Linked DNA regions of Homo sapiens: all the other regions are linked to region 2. The links are contacts of gene promoters, found by promoter capture Hi-C in human tissues and cell types (Jung and others, 2019). All regions are on one chromosome and are shown on one strand. The core of a region is centred on a gene start or on the middle of the fragment in contact, and the rest is flanking DNA. Distances in the headings are between cores, read along the strand shown. Region 1 overlaps ZNF160 (zinc finger protein 160). Region 2 holds the start of ERVV-1 (endogenous retrovirus group V member 1, envelope). Region 3 overlaps LOC124904762 (a long non-coding RNA gene).

Region 1 (2,912 bases), core at 413-2,912, 61 kb after region 2:
AGAAAGAAGCATTTTTATTTAGAACCAACACAATAAGAACTGGAATATGATTTTTAAAAAAATTCTATATTGACAAATTATAGTTATATATATTTACAGGAAACAAACTGATATTCTGTTATAGGTATACAATATGGACTGATGGAAACAAGCCTATTACCATATAAGTCATCTCAAAAACCTATCATTTACTCCTAATGTTTTCACCCAGTGACCAACATCTCCCTATTCCCTCCAGTCCCCAACCTGTGGTAACCCACATTCTACTCTTTGCTGCTATTAGTTTTATTGGTTTAGATTCCAAATGTAAGTGACAACATGCAGTACTTGTATTTCTGTGCTGAAGCCTGGAAAAACAGAATACGCACCCCATGTAAGACTGAGGATCAATGACAGAAGGATTTTGTTAGGTGTCTTTACGGTTATGCTGAGAACAATCTTAGAAGATAGAACCCACTCGCTTATCACACACCCCCATGAAAGTGGCAAAAGCAGAATGGAAGAAATGGCCGAGGGACCTCGACAGGCGGAGACGGCTGGAGACTCTTCCATGAGGTTTGGGGCAGCAGATGCCAAGGAGCAGCAGCCAATGTTTCCATCTCCTGAGCAGGTCTTCCACGCACAGGAAATGGGGTGGAACATAAACAGGTCTAGACGTCAGGACTAAGGACTATGGAGGCTTCCCCTCTGACCCATATGGACTAAGAACTGAGCACCATATGGAATTAAATACAGAGGGAGAGACCAAGAAAGAAAGCAGTTTCTTCAGAAGGAACCATAGAGTTCAAATGACAGGGTGTTGTCCATCATGATAAAGACTTTGCCTCTATCTCTAAGGCAACTTATTTTCCCAAAGAACTCTCTCATCTGCAGAGAGTTTCCCACTTTATTTATTTATTTATTTTGAGACGGAGTTTTGTTCTGTCCACCCAGGCTGGAGTGCAGTGGCATGATCTTGGCTCACTGCAACCTCCACCTCCCGGGTTCAAGCAATTCTCTTGCCTCAGCCTCCTGAGTAGCTGGGACTACAGGCACACGCCACCATGCCCGGCTAATTTTTTTTTGTATTTTTAGTAGAGATAGGGTTTCACAATGTTGGTCAGGCTGGTCTCGAACTCCTGACCTCAAGTGATCTGCCCACCTTGGCCTCCCTAAGTGTTGAGATTACAGGCGTGAGCTACTGTGCCCCCTCCCACACTCTAGTTAATGAGTGGCCTTCTCTCTGCCCATCTGAGCTCTTACCTGTGACCACGCCTTTGACACATTCCGGCGTTCTTGGTTTTCTTGCTATTTTCACACAGCTCTTCACAGTCCAGGGCTCTTTCCCTTCCTCCAACATGGAGATAATATTCATATCAAAATGACACAGTCCTGTTTATAAAAAGAAAGGATCACAATGTGCCGGGGCTTTTCCAGAATCCCAGCCCTATGTTTACATGAGAGGACATTATATGTGGATCTAAGAAAACTTCAAAAATTCATCCACTGGGCCAGGCGCGGTGGCTCATGCCTGTAATCCCAGCATTTTGGGAAGCTGAGGTGGGTGGATCACAAGGTCAGGAGATGGAGATCATGATGGCTAACATGGTGAAACCCTGTCTCTACTAAAAACATAAAAAAAAATTATCCAGGTGTGGTGGCGGGCGCCTGTGGTCCCAGCTACTCGGGAGGCTAAGGCAGGAGAATGGCATGAACCTGGGAGGCAGAGCTTGCAGGGAGCCTAGATCACGCCACTGCACTCCAGCCCGGGCGACAGAGCGAGACTCCGCCTCAAAAAAAAAAAAAAAAAATCATCCACTGAATGCCTCCTTCTGAATACCCAGGAAACATGGTACATGCTGATAGAAGGCTCTATTCCACCAACAACTTAATCCAAAGCAGAGAGGTAGAAAACAGGAAATCTGACATTTCAAAAGTCTAACACAATGTATTATGCATACAAAAGCTCTGAAACCTCAAATGATGAAGTACAAAGGAGGCAGAACATCTGAGAAAGGGGAAGATTAAAGTCCAGGTTTCCCATGATTAAGCTTTCCATTTCAGAGTCAACAGGACTTCAATCTCAGTCAAGCAATGCAGGGGCTCTCCAGGGACTCGTAAGGGAAAATGCAACAATAGACAAGAACAGATCTTGACTTCTGGAAGAAAGTCATCCTCACCCAGAGAAACAAGGTTCCAGTAGTTCTCCAACATCACGTCCCTGTATAAGATCCTCTGAGCAGGGTCCAGGCATTTCCACTCCTCCTGAGAGAATTCTATGGCCACATCCCTAAATGTCAACCGTACCTAAAATGAAAAACACATTTCACCAAGTGGCTAAGGGGAGAGTTCAAAATTTCACATAAAAGGAGAAGAGGAGAAAAATGTGAGAATAGGTTAAATTGAAGTGGGTGAGCTGACAGATCCAGATTGTGACAATGTGACATACAGATTTGGTCTTCATCCCCCTCTCCTGACATAAGAGCTCACTTGAAATCAGTGGAGTGATAAGTATCTTTTTGTACATTAATGGGATAATTGGTGTCTGGAGCACCTAGGTAGCTTCAGGATGGAGGGCGGTCACCGGAACTAAGGCTCGGTGGGTGGTCACTGGAAAGGCTGAGGCTCGGTTAGACTAAGCCTCTGTCCTCTCGGGAGGACAGAGGGAATGAAAGTTCAGTTGATCACCAATGCCAATAATGGAAGCAAGGCCTCCATAATGGGGCCTCCATGAAAACTCAAAAAAGACAGAATACATGAGAGAATACATCCCAGCTCCTCACTCCTTTCCCATATCTCAACTAATAGATCACTTCCATCTAGATGTTCATCTGTGTGCTTTGTAGCATCTTCTATAATAAATGGGTAAATATAAGTGTTTCCCTGTGTTATGTGAGCCACTCAAGCAAACTAATCAATTTCAAGGAGGGGGT
Region 2 (2,843 bases), core at 119-2,618:
GCCACCGTGCCCAGCCAAATTTTTTTTTTTGTTCAATGTTGCCCAGGTTGGCCTCAAACGCGTAGCCTTGCCTCCTTGTGACCCAGGACAACCGGCCAGAGCCAATGCAGCTCCCTGTCCTGCTTAGTTGAGCCAGTTCAGCATTGGGAAGCTTACCCAGGGAAAGACTGATGGATGTATTTCACTCAATTGCCAGCCTGTAGAGGCTATAAATGCCTTCTGGTGTTTGTGGACACCTTTATTGGGTGGGTTAAAGCCTTTCCTACAAGAACAGAAAAGGCCCAGGAAGTAGCCAAGGTACTTCTTAAAAAAAAAAAAAAAATCATCCCGGCCGGGCGTGGTGGCTCACTTCTGTAATCTCAGCACTTTGGGAGGCCGAGGCAGGCGGATCACGAGGTCAGAGAATTGAGACCATCCTGGCTAACACAGTGAAATCCTGTCTCTACTAAAAAAGAGAAAAAATTAGGTGGGTGTGGTAGCGGGCGCCTATAGTCCCAGCTACTCAGGAGGCTGAGGCAGAAGAATGGTGTGAACCCGGGAGGTGGAGCTTGTGGTGAGCTGAGATTGTGCCACTGCACTCCAGCCTGGACAACAGAGCGAGACTCCGTCTCAAAAACAAAAAGAAAAAAAAAATCACCCCTCAGTGTGGGTTTAGTTTGTGTTTACAAAGTGACAACGGCCCAGTTTTTATTTCACGCACCCTTTAATTAGTGACAAAAGCCCTAGAAATAAAGTACTCCTAGCACTCCTGGAGAACACATTCCTCTGGCAAGGTAGAAAGCACTAATCAAACTATTAAAAGGACCCTGAACAAAGTGTGCCAGGAAACCTCCTCACCATGGTTAGAACTCCTGTCCGTAGCACTGTTCTGAGCATGACCCCTAATATTACTTATGCCTTCCTACATGCAGACCTAATGTTAGATCCAGAAGTTACCCAATTAATCAAATACATAACATCACTGGCCCAATTTCAACAAGCCATCCAGGAGTTTGAGCAAAAGGTACTGCCTGCCACTGACCCCTCCAGTAATCAACCCTTATACTAGCCAGGGTCACAAGTCCTCATCAAAACCTGGAGAGATGGGTCACCCAGGTCTCAACTAGCCTGGGTCTCTCCTTTATGGAAAGGCCCCTTTATTACTTTCTACCCCGACAGCTATCAAAGTTTCTGGAATCTCTAGTTGGATACATCACTCCTGAGTAAAACTGTGAGAAGGTCCCGAAGAACCAACAACAGAATCAGCATCTGAGTAGTCTCATGAGCCAGCCACTGGAGAGCTTCCAATTCCTCTTCAAGTGAAAAGATAAGTAAAGCCTTCTCTCCTTTCACCTCAAAAAAAGGTCTCTCAGTACGGGGAATCTTGGTTGCGGTGGCATCGGTTCTTCTCCTTATTTTGACCCACACTGGCATGCCACCTGAAGTCCCGATAACAGCCTGATTTCTCACTAAACACTCCATCGAACCATTTCATTATTTGTCTCTCCTATTTTCAGCACTTTCCTTTTGCTTTCACAAAGCTTAAGGGAGAATCAGCTATGACAGAGAAATTCCTTTTCCTTTATCTTTCCCTCCTTCCCATGCCCCTACTCTCACAGGCACAGTGGAATGAAAATTCCCTTGTCAGTTTTTCCAAAATAATTGCTTCGGGAAACCATCTAAGCAACTGTTGGATCTGCCACAACTTCATCACCAGGTCCTCATCTTACCAATATATTTTGGTAAGAAATTTTTCTTTAAACCTAACATTTGGTTCAGGAATCCCTGAAGGCCAACATAAATCTGTTCCGCTCCAGGTTTCGCTTGCTAACTCAGCGCACCAAGTCCCCTGCCTGGATCTCACTCCACCTTTCAATCAAAGCTCTAAAACTTCTTTCTATTTCTACAACTGCTCTTCTCTAAACCAAACCTGTTGTCCATGCCCTGAAGGACACTGTGACAGGAAGAACACCTCTGAGGAGGGATTCCCCAGTCCCACCATCCATCCCATGAGCTTCTCCCCAGCAGGCTGCCACCCTAACTTGACTCACTGGTGTCCAGCTAAACAAATGAACGATTATCGAGACAAGTCACCCCAAAACCGCTGTGCAGCTTGGGAAGGAAAAGAGCTAATCACATGGAGGGTTCTATATTTGCTTCCCAAGGCACACACTGTCCCCACATGGCCAAAATCTACTGTTCCCCTGGGAGGGCCTCTATCCCCTGCATGCAATCAAACTATTCCAGCAGGGTGGAAATCGCAGTTACACAAGTGGTTCGACAGCCACATCCCCCGGTGGGCCTGTACCCCTCCTGGCTATGTATTTTTATGTGGGCCACAAAAAAATAAACTGCCCTTTGATGGAAGTCCTAAGATAACTTATTCAACCCCCCCTGTGGCAAACCTCTACACTTGCATTAATAACATCCAACATACGGGAGAATGTGCTGTGGGACTTTTGGGACCACGGGGGATAGGTGTGACCATTTATAACACCACCCAACCCAGACAGAAAAGAGCTCTGGGTCTAATACTGGCAGGGATGGGTGCGGCCATAGGAATGATCGCCCCATGGGGAGGGTTCACTTATCATGATGTCACCCTCAGAAATCTCTCCAGACAAATAGACAACATAGCTAAGAGTACCAGAGATAGCATCTCTAAACTCAAGGCCTCCATAGATTCTCTAGCAAATGTAGTCATGAACAACAGATTGGCCTTAGATTACCTCTTAGCAGAGCAGGGTGGAGTCTGTGCAGTGATCAGTAAATCCTGTTGCATTTATGTCAATAACAGTGGGGCGATAGAGGAGGATATAAAAAAGATCTATGATGAGGTTACGTGGCTCCATAACTTTGGAAAA
Region 3 (2,700 bases), core at 24-2,523, 42 kb after region 2:
TGCAAAGAGGTGGCATGCATCCAGATGTGGCCCCTAAACAATCCCTGCTGCCCAGCATACAACCCACACAAATATACGACAAGAAAACAAAACCTTAGACCAATATCCCTGAAAATATTGGTGAAAAAGTCCTCAACATAATATTAGGGGGCCCACACCCCATCTCCAATCCAGGCCCCAGTGGAGCTTCTTCCCAAGTTCATGTCACTAGGTCACGGGCAATGGAATGTAAGTGAGATAAGAGGGACTGAGGGACCGCATGGGTGAGTGAGCAAATATGTCAGGCAGGATGCTTCAGACTCAAAGACTTGCAACTCCAAAGAATGACATTTTGTTATTGTAGGTAACTCCTCTGGTATGAGCAGAGCAGGGCAGGGCAGGAGAGGGCTCCCCCTCCCCATACACACACATCAGGAATGTCAGGCAACTATCAGATGATGGTCAGGTGGTTGTTAAACATGTAAAATAATAGTCACAGCTGGCACCAGGGAAAGGCAGGCTCCTCACACACAGAAAACACCTGAAACTGGTGATCTGCTGCTTCCCATGAGATCTCAGGAGTTGGGCGAGTGGACTCAAGCACGCACATGCGGACAGCCCACCCCAAGGGAAGAATCAGGGAAGCAAGACCCCGGAAGTATACCAATGTATAAAACCCCAAGTCAAAAGGTCGAAGTGCACACTTGCCTTTCAAGTCACCCACTTGGCACTTGGCCGTCTTCCAACTGTACTTTCCTTCCTTTCATTTCTGCTCTAAAGCTTTTTTTCTTTTCTTTTCTTTTCTTTTTTTTTTTTTTTTTTTTTGAGACAAGGCCTTGCTGTGTCACTCAGGCTGGAGTGCGATGACATCATCTTGGCTCACTGCCAACCTCCACATCCTGGGCTCAAAAGATTCTCCTGCCTCAGCCTCCCAAGTAGCTGGGATTACAGCCATGCACCACCACACCCGGCTAATTTTTATCTTTTTTGTAGAGATGGGGTTTTGCCATGTTGCCCAGGCTGGTTTTGAACTGCTGGACTCAAGTGATACGCCCATCTCAGCCTACCAAAGCATTGAGATTACAGGTGTGAGCCACTGCGCCTGGCCATTTCTGCTCTAAAACTTTTTATTCATTCATTCATTCATTCATTCATTCATTTATTTTTGAGACGGAGTTTTGCTCTTGTTGCCTAGGCTGGAGTGAAATGGCGCCATCTCGGCTCACTACAACCTCCGCCTCCCACGTTCAAGCGATTCTTCTGTCTCAGCCTCAGGTCAGGCTGATCTCGAACTCGAGACCTCAAGTGATCTGCCGCCTCAGGTCAGGCTGGTCTCGGACTCTCGACCTCACATGATCTGCCGCCTTGGCCTCCCAAAGTGCTAGGATTATAGGCATGAGACACCGCGCCCGGCCCTGCTCTAAAACTTTTTAATAAACTTTTGCTTTCATTCCTGCTCTAAAACTTGCCTCAGTCTCTCCTTCTGCCCTATGCCCCTCAGTTGAATTTTTTCTTCTGAGGAGGCAAGAATTGAGGTTGGTGCAGACCTGTACGGATAGGGATTCACCACCTGTAACAATTTCAGAAATAAGAGAAATAAAAATCAACCGATACTATTACTTTACCTGAGTAAGAGCCATCCCTGTTTCCTTTTCTTCCTCTTCTAGGCATCTTCCTTGGGTAACATGAAAAAGCCTTTACAAGTCGATCCTGAATGTCTAAAATATGCCATTTAATGACTGGAATCAACACCCTCATTTTTGTGCCTCAAACACCCATTCAGGGAAGCCCTCACTGTGGAAAGCCAGTTCTCTGGGAGTCATTGCACCAGATGGAACACAGGGACGACAGGCTCCTACAGGAAGACCAACAGGTGAGTTTTGGGCCCATTTCTTCAGAACCCGCTCCCCTCCCAGAGAAGCCCACACACACACTGCAGCCGTGGGAAGCTGGGCTGGACTGAGCTTCTCTTCAGGACACAGACCCAGCCCTGACCAAACCCCATGCAGAGCACAGCCCCCCTCACCCATCTGTGGATCACAGGCTGATTTCAGCCCTTAGAAACAAAGGGCGGAGCCTGGGTGCTCAATGCTGGACACCCATGGAATCACCTTTAAATATTATTAAGGACACGTCCCAATGTATTTGAATGAAAACTTCAGGTAAGGGGGCACCAGAGGTGTGCCTGCAAAATGCCCCAGATGCCTGCTGGACTCCCAGAGGAGAGTTGAAGAGACAATTGGACACAGGATTCCAGTGTTCAGGGGAGAGGTCTGCAGGGAACATGGAGCCGTGTAGGTGGGTTTAAAGCCATGAGATGAGATGATAAGGGCAGTGGGTGTGGGCAGAGATCAGAAGTCCGAGGGGTAAGCTGAGGGTCACTCCACATTCAGAAAACAGAGCTCAAGACATACTAGAAGAGAAAAGTGTAAAGTGATCAGGGAGGCAAGAAGAAAATTAAGAGAAATACATTTTTATTTTTTTTAATTAAAAACATTTTTGACGTGGAGTCTTGCTCTCTCGCCCAGGCTGGAGTGCAGTGGCGCGATCTCCGATGACTGCAACCTCCCTCTCTCGGGATCAAGCGATTTGCCTGCCTCACCCTCAGAGTAGCTGAGATTACAGGCGTGCAGCACCACATCCGGCTAATTTTTAGTAGAGACGGGGGTTTCACCATGTTGGGCACGCTGGTCTCGAACTCCTGACCTCAAATGATCCACC

Evidence for each region. Contacts are between HindIII fragments. The study calls those that stand out against the background at their distance.
Region 1: a fragment that was not itself captured here is called in contact with the fragment with the promoter of ERVV-1 in region 2 in 6 of the 25 tissues and cell types used here (H1 embryonic stem cells, mesenchymal stem cells, mesendoderm cells and 3 more).
Region 3: a fragment that was not itself captured here is called in contact with the fragment with the promoter of ERVV-1 in region 2 in 1 of the 25 tissues and cell types used here (psoas muscle).

The regions. Positions count from the first base shown.
Region 1 is chr19:53,072,898-53,075,809 of GRCh38, forward strand. ZNF160 (zinc finger protein 160) reads right to left here. Exons shown (of 6, transcript NM_001322131.2): 4 at 2,160-2,286; 5 at 1,243-1,371. Among named protein-coding and RNA genes, the nearest start is that of ZNF160, 29 kb to the right of the region's middle. The HindIII fragment of the contact is 9,128 bases long and covers 1-2,912 here.
Region 2 is chr19:53,012,553-53,015,395 of GRCh38, forward strand. ERVV-1 (endogenous retrovirus group V member 1, envelope) reads left to right here and starts at 1,369. Exons shown (of 1, transcript NM_152473.3): 1 at 1,369-2,843. The coding sequence starts at 1,539. The region is part of intron 1 of LOC124904758 (a long non-coding RNA gene); the gene reads right to left. The HindIII fragment of the contact is 3,820 bases long and covers 1-2,377 here.
Region 3 is chr19:53,054,962-53,057,661 of GRCh38, forward strand. It overlaps LOC124904762 (a long non-coding RNA gene), which reads right to left. Exons shown (of 2, transcript XR_007067330.1): 2 at 2,437-2,624. Among named protein-coding and RNA genes, the nearest start is that of ERVV-2, 12 kb to the left of the region's middle. The HindIII fragment of the contact is 3,275 bases long and covers 1-2,700 here.